Linked DNA regions of Homo sapiens: all the other regions are linked to region 2. Evidence: promoter capture Hi-C in 16 types of primary human blood cells and fetal thymus (Javierre and others, 2016). All regions are on one chromosome and are shown on one strand. The core of a region is centred on a gene start or on the middle of the fragment in contact, and the rest is flanking DNA. Distances in the headings are between cores, read along the strand shown. Region 1 has its middle 4.6 kb from the start of IL21R. Region 2 holds the start of ARHGAP17 (Rho GTPase activating protein 17). Region 3 overlaps NSMCE1-DT (NSMCE1 divergent transcript).

Evidence for each region. Contacts are between HindIII fragments. The CHiCAGO score rates a contact against its expected background, and 5 or more counts as called.
Region 1: a contact is called between a fragment that was not itself captured here and the fragment with the promoter of ARHGAP17 in region 2, in 1 of 17 cell types (M0 macrophages). The highest score is 5.5, in M0 macrophages.
Region 3: a contact is called between a fragment that was not itself captured here and the fragment with the promoter of ARHGAP17 in region 2, in 1 of 17 cell types (M0 macrophages). The highest score is 6.6, in M0 macrophages.

Annotation. Positions count from the first base shown.
Region 1 is chr16:27,395,345-27,399,704 of GRCh38, forward strand. No RefSeq gene overlaps it. Among named protein-coding and RNA genes, the nearest start is that of IL21R, 4.6 kb to the right of the region's middle. The HindIII fragment of the contact is 8,609 bases long and covers 1-4,360 here.
Region 2 is chr16:25,012,705-25,016,832 of GRCh38, forward strand. ARHGAP17 (Rho GTPase activating protein 17) reads right to left here and starts at 2,665. Exons shown (of 20, transcript NM_001006634.3): 1 at 2,505-2,665. The coding sequence starts at 2,557. It also overlaps the pseudogene LOC100421171. RefSeq lists enhancers at 1,553-2,221, 2,222-2,890 and silencers at 2,204-2,253, 2,314-2,363, 2,424-2,473, 2,554-2,803. The HindIII fragment of the contact is 8,408 bases long and covers 1-4,128 here.
Region 3 is chr16:27,269,267-27,273,119 of GRCh38, forward strand. The region is part of intron 1 of NSMCE1-DT (NSMCE1 divergent transcript); the gene reads left to right. Among named protein-coding and RNA genes, the nearest start is that of NSMCE1, 2.4 kb to the left of the region's middle. RefSeq lists an enhancer at 2,388-2,936. The HindIII fragment of the contact is 2,195 bases long and covers 705-2,899 here.

The DNA.
Region 1 (4,360 bases), core at 214-2,713, 2.4 Mb after region 2:
CAGTTCTTCTCAAACTCCTCCACAAAACAGGAGAGAAATCCAGACAAGAGAACCACAAGAAAACAAAACTACAGACTAATATTCCTTATGAATATAGATATAAAATTTCACAAAAATACAAGCAAACTAATTCTACAGCACATTAAAAGGATTATACAGTGTGACCAAAAAGGATTTATCCCAGGAATGCAAGGGTGGTTCAACATAAGAAAATTAATCAATACAATACATAACATTAATAGAATAAGAAAACCCACACGATCATCCAAATTGATGCAGAAAAGCATTTGACAAAATTTAACACCCTTTCATGATAAAAACACTCAGTAAAGTAGGAATAAGAGAGAACTCCCTCAACATGATAAAGACCATATATGAAAAACCTGGCTGGGCACAGTGGCTCATGCCTGTAATACCAGCACTTTGGGAGGCCGAGACAGGCAGATCACCTGAGATCAGGAGTTCGAGACCAGCCTGGCCAACATGGTGAAATGCTGTCTCTACTAAAAATACAAAAATTAGTTGGATGTGGTGGCACACACCTGTAATCCCAGCTACTTGGGAGGCTGAGGCAGGAGAATCACTTGAACCCATGAGGTTGCAATGAGCTAAGATCATGCCACTGCACTCCAACCTGCACCAGAGTGAGACTCCATCTCAAATAAAAAAGAGAGAGACAGAGAAAGAAGGAAAGAGAGAAAGAAAGAAAGAGAAATAAAGAAAGAAAAACCCGCAGCTAACAAGCTAACATCACACTAAATCAGTGAAAGACTGAAAACTTTTCCACCAAGATCAGGAAAGAGGATGCCCACTTTCACCACTGGTATTCAACATTGCACTGAAAGTTTTAACCAGAACAATTCAGCAAGAAAAAGAAATAAAAGGCATTCAAATGGGAAAAGGAAAGAGTAAAAACTACTGTTATTCGCAGATGACATGATCATATATATGGAAAATTCTAAAGAACGCACAAAGAAATTATTAGAGCTAATAAATTCAGCCAAGTGACAGGGTATAAGATCAACATACAAAAATAAATTGTGTTTGTATATACTAGCAATAAACAACCCCAAAAGGAAATTAAATAAATTCTATTTATAATAGCATCAAAAATAATAAAATACTTAAGAATAAATTTAACCAAGGAGGTGCAAGATTTGTACACTGAACACTATAAAATATTGCTGAAAAAATTAGAAAAGACCTAAATAAAGTTTTTTAAATTCTATGTTAATGTAATGGAAGATTTAACATTGCACTCCTCAAAGTAATTTATAGATTTAATGCAATTCCTATAAAAGTCCCAATGGCCTTTTTTAAAAAATGGAAAAACTGATCCTAAAAATCATGTGAAATTTCAAGGGACCCAGAAAAGCCAAAACAATAAAGTTGGAGGACTCAAATTCCCATTTTTAAAATTTACTGCAGAGCCAAGATTGTGCCATTGCATTCCAGCCTGGGCAACAAGAGCGAAACTCTGTCTCAAAACAACACAAAAACAAAAACAAAACAAAACAAAACTTACTGCAGAGCTACAGTAATCAAAACAGTGTGATAATCCTGGCACAAGGCTAGACATATAGATCAATGGAATTGAACTTAGAGTTCAGAAATAAACCCATGAATCTATAGTCAATTTTTTTTCATTTTTTTTGCATTAAAGCACACTATCAACAAAGTGAAAAGACAGCCACAGAATGGGAAAAATATTTGTAATTCATATATCTGATAAAGGTGAGTTTCCAGAATATACAAAGAACTCTTAAAATTCAACAACAAATGATGAACAATCAAATTTAAAAATTGGCAAGGAGCTGGGCACGGTGGCTTATGCCTGTAATCCCAGCACTTTGGGAGACTGAGGTGGGCGGATCACCTGAGGTTAAGGGTTCGAGACCAGCCTGGTCAACATGGTGAAAACCCGTCTCTACTAAAAACACAAAAATTAGCTGGATATGGTGGCACACGTTTGTAAGCCCAGCTACTCGGGAGGCCGAGGCACAAGAATCGCTTGAACCCAGGAGGTAGAGGTTTCAGTGAGCCAAGATCACACCACTGCACTCCAGTGTGGGAGACAGATCAAGACTCTGTCTAAAAAAAAAATAAAATAAATAAAATTTGGCAAGGGACTTCAATAGACATTACTCCAAACAAGATATGCAAATGACTACCAAGCACATGAAAAGATGCTTACCATCATTAGCCATTAGGGAAATGCAAATCAAAACCACAATGAGATACCACTTCACATCCGCTAGGATGGCTATAATAAAAACCAACAGAAAATACATATTGTCTGCTGGGTGCGGTGGCTCACGCCTGTAATCCCAGCACTTTGGGAGGCCGAGGCGGGCGCATCACGAGGTCAGGAGATCGAGACCATCCTGGCTAACACGGTGAAACCCCGTCTCTACAAAAGAAAATACAAAAAATTAGCCAGGCGTGGTGGCAGGCACCTGTAGTCCCAGCTACTCGGGAAGCTGAGGCAGGAGAATGGCGTGAACCCGGGAGGCGGAGCTTGCAGTGAGCCGAGATCGCGCCACTGCACTCCAGCCTGGGCGACAGACCGAGACTCCATCTCAAAAAAAAAAAAAAAAAGAAAAAAAAAAAAAAGAAAATACATATTGTCAAGGACGTAGAGAAATGGGAACCTTCAGACATTGCTGGTGGGAATATAATACAGGGCAGCTGCTGTGAAAAACAGTTTGTCAGTTTCTTAATAAGTTAAACTTATTTAAAAGTTAATAAGTTAAACTACCTTTAACTCAACAAGTCTCCTTCTGGGTATATATCCAAAAGATTTGAAAATGCATGTCTACACAAAGACTCGCATGCAAGTGTTCATAGCATGCTTGTTTGTAGTAAAGGAAAAAGTGGACATACTCCAAATGTCCATCATCTCATGAAAGGATAAATGAATGTGGCATATCTATGCAATGTAATATTCTTCAGCAATAAAAATCAATTTTTATTTTTTATTTTTTTGAGATGGAGTTTCGCTCTGTCTCCCAGGCTGGAGGGCAGTGGCACTAGCTCTGCTCACTGCAACCTCCACTTCCCGTGTTCAAGCAATTCTCCTGCCTCAGCCTCCTGAGTAGCTAGGGCTACAGGTGCACGTCACCATACCTAACTAATTTTTGTATTTTTAGTAGAACAGGGTTTCACCATGTTGGCCAGGCTGGTCTCAATCTCCCGGCGTGTGCAACCACACCAGGCTAATTATTGTATTTTTTAGTAGAGGCGGGGTTTTACCATGTTGTCCAAGCTGGTCTCGAACTCCTGATCTCAAGTGATCCGCCCACCTTGGCCTCCCAAAGTGTTGAGATTACAGGCATGAGCCACCGCGCCTGGCCTAAAAATGGATTTTTAGATATGTGGTGCCAACACACGCTACAACGTGGTTGAACCCCAAACACGCGATGCTGAAAGAAACTAAACACAAAAGACAACATATTGATATGAGATGCCTAGGAAAAAAAAAAAGCAAAATCAGTAGAGGCATAAAGTAGACGAGTGGCCCTGGGAATGGGAATGGAGATTGACTATAAGCAGGCACAAGGAACCTTTCAGGAGTGATGGGATTGTTTTAAAATTGGATCGTGGTTATAATTGCACAATTCGATAAATTCACTAAAAATCATTGAACTGTACATTTACAGTGGCTTGATTTTATGTTATGTAAAACATAGCTAAATAAAGCTCTTAAAATAAAAATAAAAAAGAGGAAATGGGTTGAGGGAGGGGGTGTGTCAATTATTTTTTCCCAGGAGGCCCCTTGGCTGAAATGCAAATGTGACCACTTCCTCCCCGCTGACCAGCTATCAGCACTGAGGCATGGTTGGAGGGCCGCTGAGATCCTATGGCACCTTCCTTCCAAGGGTATAGAGGCCATACTTATGAGACATTTACAGACCCAGAGGAACCCCTCAAGGGACCACATGTCTATTTCTGAGGGGACTCATGTTTACCCCAGTGGACATGGGCCTGGCAGCTCCAAATGCATCTACTTTTTAAGCACCAAGGGACTGTGACCCCTGCTGATCCCACCCATTCCCCAACTCCTGGCCTGAACTGAAAATGTAAACTGGATTAAGCCACTCTTAAGATGAAACCCTCCAATGATGACTTCCCATTTCCTTTGGAACAATCTACCTTCCTCACCCAAAACCGTGAGGTCCCATGTGGTGTAGATGTGTGATTTCCGTGCCTTCACCTTCTACTATTCCTCCATTTGCTCACTGTATTACGCCATGCTGTTCTCAAGTTCCTGGAGCCAGCCACATTCTTTCCTACCTCAGTGCCTTTGCACTTGCAGATCCTTCTGCCGATAATGTTCTTCCCATGGCTGGGCACTTCTTAG
Region 2 (4,128 bases), core at 1,415-3,914:
AGGAAGCAACAGGTTTCCCAGTTAAAAACAGATGTTCTGACTTTGGGTGCATAATTGCCACACCCTTAATAGTTCTGTAATAGCTTCAGCTTCCACTGGCATCTAGCAATAAAGATTTTTAAAGACAGTCAAAGGTCAGGCCCAGAATTACAGCTCCAGCATGAATCACCATCTACTCTATCCACTTCATGTTTTCCCATACTCGGGCCCACACCACCAAGGCGATCTAGTAAGAACTCAAATACCAGAATTAACAATGTCTACTGCACCCTGGCCATGGGGTAGGAACCACAGCAGACCCTGGGAATCAAAGGAGACACAGCAAGGACTCTCAAGGTATTTATCTGATGGAGAACACACACAAGAGGCAGTCACAGCACAGAAAAGCAAGTGCTACACAGGATTACAAGAACGCCCAGGAGAGGCATCCAATCTATGCTGTAGCATCATAGAAGGCCTTTCAGAGGCAGAGGGACCTTTCCCAGAAGGCTGAAGAATGAGCAAGAGGTGCCTGGAGAAAAGGTGTGGTGGGAGAGGCTTCCAGGAGTTCCAAGTAGATGCTAGCAGGTAAGAAAGCAAGACCTCCTGTGGAAACTGAAGGTAGGCAAGCATGGCCGGAATTTTAAAATGTGAAGGTGCCAGGCAAGGTGGCTCACGCTTGTAGTCCCAGAACTTTGGGAGGCCAAGGCAGGCAGATCAGTTGAGGCCAGGAGTTCGAGACCACCCTAGGCAACATGGCAAATCCCCACTCTACAAAAAATACAAAAATTAGCGGATGTGGTGGTGCCCACCTGTAGTTCCAACCACATAGGTGGCTGAGGCGAGAGGGTCGCTTGAGCCCAGGGAAGTCAAGGCTGCAATGAGACAAGATCGCACCACTGCACCCCAGCTTGGGTGACAAAGGGAGACCCTGTCTCAAAAAAAAAAAAAAGTGTGAAGGGAGAAGCCTCTAAGATGACCCAGGAGTCAAAGAGACCCTAAATAGCTTGGTAGATTTAAGTCTCAGAACTTTGTATAAAAAGAGTGAAAGTCCCTTACCTGTCACGAACAATGTAAAAACAAGCCAAACGACTATTTGACAAATGTATCTTGGCACTTACTAAATACTAGTTCCACAATGCACGTTGCTCAGAACACTAACAAGGGTACGAAACTCACAAGAAATTATCATGTGCTTGTAAACTGTTCCTTGAAACATCAGCCGCCATTACCACACGTCTACCTTCCTCTCAGCATTATTTCTTTAATTTTCCTGCAAATAACAGAAAAGTAGGTTTGTCTGGGCTTTAGGGGCAGCGATTAACCCTGAAAATAAGAGTTAATTCTCACCACAATAATACGGTAGGGAATCGAAAAAATTAAACAAGGAAACTAAGCAAAAAGATGGAGGAAATGAAACAGTAAAAAGCAAATTTAGAAAACTCGAGAGGAAGTAAAAGTATTTTCATACACTCAAAAAAAAGAAGTGTCCCACGTGCTTCAGCCAAACCAAACTCCCCTTAACTGTTAAAAACAGAAAATCAAAAGAAGAGCTGTGAGAAATTCATACTTTCGTATCTCTTTGCTGAATAAACACTAAATCGGTACAGTACAGCCAGCTGCCCTGAAAGACCTTGAAATATTAGCCCCAGATAATACAGCACATGACAGTCACCTCCAGAAACTCTCAAAAACCACAAATCATTTCTTGTTCTGACAACCTGATCTACCAACTCTGGTCTAGCCTGCCATTTAATAATCAATAACGTTTCTTGTTAAGCACTTCAACCGTAGCAAAGGAAGATAAAGAAGCATTTGTTTCCAAACCTAAGGTGAGACTTTTTAAATTGGCGCAAGGCGTCTCCATAATCCTTTTCCGCCAATTCCTAATTTCTAAATGTCAAGAACTGGCAGCAGCAGTCCAGTTCCTAGGAGCCCTGGTTTTGAGACAGCACCACCTCCGAATTCCCTCAAAGGGCGTTCTGAACTCACTGAGCAAATCCGGCTGGCTTTCATGTCCCTCTAGCCATTTCTTGCCGCCATGCACTTACAGGAGAAGGACTCGCAAACAGCGGGAGCACCGGGAAAGCCTGGGACTGCCGCCCCCCACAGCACAGCGCTCGGCACAGCGTTAGGGACAGAAGTCACCGTTGTTGAGCCCAGGGCAGCGATCCCAGCTGGCTCGGCCCCCGGGAAGGGAGGAGAAGGACCGGGTCTACTCCCCGAGGGCGATGCTCCCGGGGCAGGGACAATGGGCAGGGGACCCCGCGGTGTGGCGGAGGAGGCGGCGGCCCTCCCCTGCAGGTCTCGGGAGCCCGGCGGCGCTGAGAGACAGGCGGGCCGCCTGGAGCGCGGCGCTCGGGCCTCAGCGCGGCGCAGCCCCCGGGCCCGTGCCCCGCTGGTCTCGGGCAGGGGCTGCGGCCCAGCTCAGAGCCGCCGGACCGCGGAGGAGCCGTCCCGCCCCCGCGCCCTCCGCCCTCCGCCCCCAGCCCCGGTGCGACCCCCGTGCTGCCCGGCGCACTCGCCTGCCCACGGTCTGGTTAGCCAGCTGCTTCATGCGGTTGAACTGCTTCTTCATGGCGGCGGTGGCGGCGGCGGCCCGCGGGGCTCGGGCCGGGCAGGGCGGGGGACAGCCTGGCAGCTACTACATCGCTTCCCGGCCCAAACGGCGGCGCGGCGGTGGCTCCCCGGGCCGGCGGCCCCGCCCTCGCCTCGTCACTTCCAGTGGCACCGCCCGCCCGCCCTCTAGGTCTGGCCGAGCCGAGCTGAGCCCGAGTAGAGCCGAGTCGAACCGAGCCGAGGCTAACAGTGCCTTACCTGACACGGGCGAAGAGCTAGAAGGCCCCGGGCGAGAAGACCACTAGGCCTCCTCCGCCTGGCCTCCCCGACCCCAACGCTGCCCGGTCACCCTCTCGTTTATTTCAACGTATGAAAAGCTGTTTCTAGCAGGGCGCAGTGGTTCAACGTTGTAATCTCAGCACTTTGGGAGGCCGAGGGGGCAGATCACTTGAGCTCGGGAGTTCGAGAGCAGCCTGGCCAACACGGTGAAATCCTGTCTCTACTAACAATACAAATTTAGCTGGGCGTGGTGGTGGACGCCTGTAATCCCAGCTACTCAGGAGGCTGAAGCAGGAGAACGGCTTTTACCCGAAAGGCAGAGGTTGCAGTGAGCCGAGATGGCGCCACTGCACTCCAGCCTGGGCAACAGAGTGAGAGACCCTGTCTCGAAAAAAAAAAAAAAAAAAAAAATTAAAGTCAATGTGTGTTTTCCTTAACACACGTGCTCACACACTCATGTCTTCCTGGTTTGGTGGCCTTGGCTCCAGGTAAGCCCCTTCTTTGCATTGGATGGGCAGCAATGTGGCTTCTTTCATCAGCCACATCTCAAATGTGCTCCTAAATGTCATAGAAAAAGGAAAGAGCTCCCTAACTATGGGATAAAGGAGACTGATGCCAGTTTGGAATTCTTAATATCAAAGAATGAGGGACTTCAAGATCTTTTTAGTGACCTAGGAGAGACCTAGGAAGCATCAGAGCTTCAGATAGGGCAGCAAACTAAAAGTTATCGACATCAATTACAACAGAAAGAGGTAGAAATGAGCCTTCCTAAAACAAGAAAGCAAGCACTACAGGATCGGTTGCAGGACCGGCAGCCAGCCCTGGAGTCAGCACATTCAGGGAAGGCCGGAGGTTCCCATCCACACTGCATCCCCTCCATTCCATGTGGTACCCATCATGCTTCAGTGTTCCACGACGCTTACATGGGTTTTTATGACATAATTTCATCATAACAAGAAATAAACAGATAGTCCAATGAAGTTCTAAAACTTGAGTCTCCAGTTGGCCATTGGAAATGTATTGCTCAGACTTATAAAATAGGAGGAACAACTAGTTTTGATGAAAATGAAATCTACAAACTACAAACACCAAATATTAATATCATCAAGGAGCTCAAACAAAAAAGAAGTCAGGATACTGATGACCATCAGCTTGAATTATCAGTATTACAGAATGTTCATCAACAGAAATTGAGGGAAATAAGTTGTAAGCATCAAGAAAATCTAAGCAATTAGGAAGAAAAGATTGAAGAACTGGAAAATTTGTTACAGCAAGGTGGCTCAGGAATTACAGTACATGATCTCTCTAAAC
Region 3 (3,853 bases), core at 552-3,051, 2.3 Mb after region 2:
AAAAGTAGCCGGGCGTGGTGGTGTGTGCCTGTAATCCCAGCTACCCGGGAGGCTGAGGCAGGAGAATCACTTGAACCCGAGAGGCAGAGGTTGCAGTGAGCCAGATCGTACCACAGCACTCGAGCCTGGGTGACAGAGCTCAAAAAAAAAGAAAAGAAAAATGTGGACTCTGTGGTCATAGAGCCTGATCTAGAATCCTGGCTCTGCCACTTACTAGTTGGCAGGCGCTTGGGCAAGTCACTGAGCCTCAGTTTCCTCTTCCATTAAATGAGGATATTAGTTCTTGCAAAATAGTGTTGGTGAGATTTACAAGAGATAATAACACCTATATCAGGTGCTTAGCATGGCCATTGAAAAGTGTCACATGGGAGTGCTGATTATATGTTAACTGTTATCTTACCTAGGGATTGTGAGAAAGCAAGTGAAATTACTCGTGGAAGTGAATGGACTGCTTTGAGTCTTCAAGGCGTTAATTTTCCAAACGTTTGAATTCTATCCCTGGTCTGAGAGCTAGGGATGCAGCCTAGCAAGGGAAACAGGTAACTAATATAGAACAGCAGTACCTGCAAATATCTGTCTCTGTGAGGATAGATCAAATCCAGGCTTGGTCACTCACCACCCCTGTGATCTTGGACAACCTCTTAACCTCTCTGGGCTTCAGTTTCATCTGCTAAGTGGGAAAGCAGTGGTGTGTGGTGATTAAAAGCTTCAGCTTTGGAGCTGGATGGTCAACATGGAATCCTGGGCCTTAAACTCAGTGTCTCTGAGACATAGGACAAAGTACAGTCAGCTGTCCATGTTTACAGGTTCCCCATCTACGGATTGAAGCAACTGTGGGTGGTTAATATTTGTGGGGGAAAACAGTAAAAAATAACAGTTCAACAATAAAAATAATACAGATTCCGAAAGCAATACAGCATAGCAATTACTTATATAGCATTTACATTGTATTAAGTATTGTAAGTAATTTAAAGATGATTTTCAATATACTGGAGGATTTGTGTAGGTTAAATGCAAGTATTCTCGCATTTTGTAAGCACCCAATGGTTCTCCTTGCCTGCTTCCTAGACAGAACCAATTTATCAAGACAGGGGAATTGCAATAGAGAAAGTTTAATTCACACAGAGCTGGCTGAACAGGAGACCACAGTTTTATTATTACTCAAATCAGTCTCCCTGGAAATTCAGGGTTTTCAAGGATAATTTGGTGGCTGGAGGTGCTGGGGATTAGAGAGTGTTGATAGGTTGGATCAGAGAGGAAAGGAGTCAAAGCTGTCCTCTTGCACTGAGTCAGATCCTGGGTTAGGACCATAGGACCAGATTAGCCAGATTACAGGGCTGGGTGGCGTCAGCTGGTGCATTAGAACACGGGTTCTGCAAAATATCTCAAGCACTGATTTTAGGTTTTAGAACAGTGATGTTACTCCCGGAAGCAATCTGGGGAGGGTCAGAATCTTGTAGCCTCCAGCTTGCGTGACCTCCTAAACCATAATTTCTAATCTTTTAGCTAATTTGTTAGTCTACAAAGGCAGACCCGTTCCTAGGCAAGGAGGGGATTTGTTTTGGGAAAGGGCTATTATTGCCTTTGTTTCAAAGTTAAACTATAAACTAAGTTCTTTCCAACATTAATTCCACCTATGTCCAGGAATGATCAAGGACAGCTTGGAAGTTAGAAGCAAGATGGAGTCAGGCCAGATCTCTTTCACTATCATAATTTTCTCAGTTATGCTTTTTACAAAGGTGGTTTTGATTTTACATAAGGGACTTGAGCATCGAGAATTTTGGTATCCATGGGGACTAAGGTACCAATCCCTCACAGATACTAAGGGATGACTGAGCTCAAGTTTTCAGCTTCAGTTTGCTCATCTATAAAGCAGGTTTAATAATAACACTTTGTTGATAATGTTATTCTGAAGATTAAAGGAAGAGTAAACGTAAACTACTTAGAAGAGTGTCTCTGGCACATTGTAAGCCCTCAATAAGTGTGAACTAACACCACTAATAAGTTCTTTATAAACTGCCTAATAGGTAGTCAAATAAGAGGGGAAATAAAGCCCTAAGGAGTAATATTTGTGTTTTGTTTGCCCTACATGGTTTTGTGAAATTTTCTATTCATTATCAATATTTAAAGTTGGGGTTTTCAATCTTTGACTGGGCATGATGGCTCATTCCTGTAATTCCAACACTTTGGGAGGCCCAGCTGGGAGGATGGCTTGAGCTCAGAAGTTTGAGATCAGCCATGGCCAACATGGTGAGGCCCCCATCTCTACAAAAAAAATATATACGCGCGCGCGCACACACACACACACACACACACACACGCAAAAATTAGCCAGGCATGGTGGTGAACACCTGTGGTCCCAGCTACTCAAGAGGCTGAGGTGGGAGGACAGCTTGAGCCAAGGAGGAAGAGGTTGCAGTGAGCTGAGATTGCATCACTGCACTCCAGCCTGTGTGACAGAGCCAGACTCTGTCTCAAAAATAAATAAATAAACTTGGGACATTTCACATAAAACCCTACTGTAGCTGACTGCTCTGGAAAAGTGGGGAAGTCTGACGACAGTGGGCCAGCCTTCCCCCATGGCAGCACTTGTTCAGAACTTGGGAGAGACCGTCCCCTTTTGTGAAGCATGTGCTTCCCTGGTGTGTGGAGAGATAAAAGAATAGAAAACGCTGGGAACACCAGCATTTCAAGATCAAAGCGTCAAGAAAAAAAGGTAGAAAGAAAAGAAAGATTCAAGACTGAGGGGGTTGGTCTTTCACTTGAAGACCATAGAAGTGATGGAAGACCAGGAAGAAATGAGAGAAGGTTTGTATTTTAGAAAAAGAACTTGGGTATATCTATTCTTTTCAAACATGCTTGGAACATTTACAGAAATTGATTACTGGGCCACAAAGGAAGCTTCAAGAAATTCTCAAGAATCTATAGGTGACATTCATGAACCACATGCTGTGAAAGTGGCATCAGAGGCACATAGGAATACAGACTTTTGAGAAGGAGGGTGTGGTCAGAATCGTCAATGCTCTGGAGAGGTCGAGTAAGATGCGCCACTGATTTAGAATTTGATGGCCAACAAAGGCCATCTTAATAGAGAGGGGAGGAAGCCAGATCGAACTCCAAGAGTGAAGAGTGGAAGTTGAGGAAGTGGAGAGGGAATGCTGACTGCTCTTTTGGGAAGTATGGCTTCAGAAGGGAAGACTTGAAGACATAGGAGCAGAGATAATAATCCATAAAATAAAAACAGGCAGCCGGGTGCGGTGGCTCACGTCTGTAATCCCAGCACTTTGGCAGGCCGAGGCGGGTGGATCATGAGGTCAGGAGTTCGAGACCAGCCTGGCCAATATGGTAACACCCTGTCTCTACTAAAAATACAAAAATTAGCTGGGCATGGTGGTGCGTGCCTGTAGGCCCAGCTACTTGGGAGGCTGAGGCAGAAGAATCACTTAAACCCAGGAGGCAGAGGTTGCTGTGAGCTGAGATCGAGCCACTGTACTCCAGCCTGGGTGACAGAGTGAGATTCCATCTCAAAAAAAAAAAAAAAAAGAATTTGAGACTAGCCTGGCCAACATAGTGAGACCCCATCTCTACTAAAAATACAAAAAATTAGCCGGGCGTAGTGGCGCACACCTGTAGTCCCAGCTACTCTGGACGCTGAGGCAGGAGAATGTCTTGAACCCAGGAGGTGGAGGTTGCAGTGAGCCGAGACTGTGCCAGTGCACCCCAGCCTGGGCAACAGAGCAAGACTCTGTCTTAAAAAAAAAAAAAAAAACACCAAAAAAAAAACAGACAAAAAGGGATGGGGTCAAAGGTGTATAGCGACAGGATTACTGTTAACCTAGAGAAGAGAAGAGAC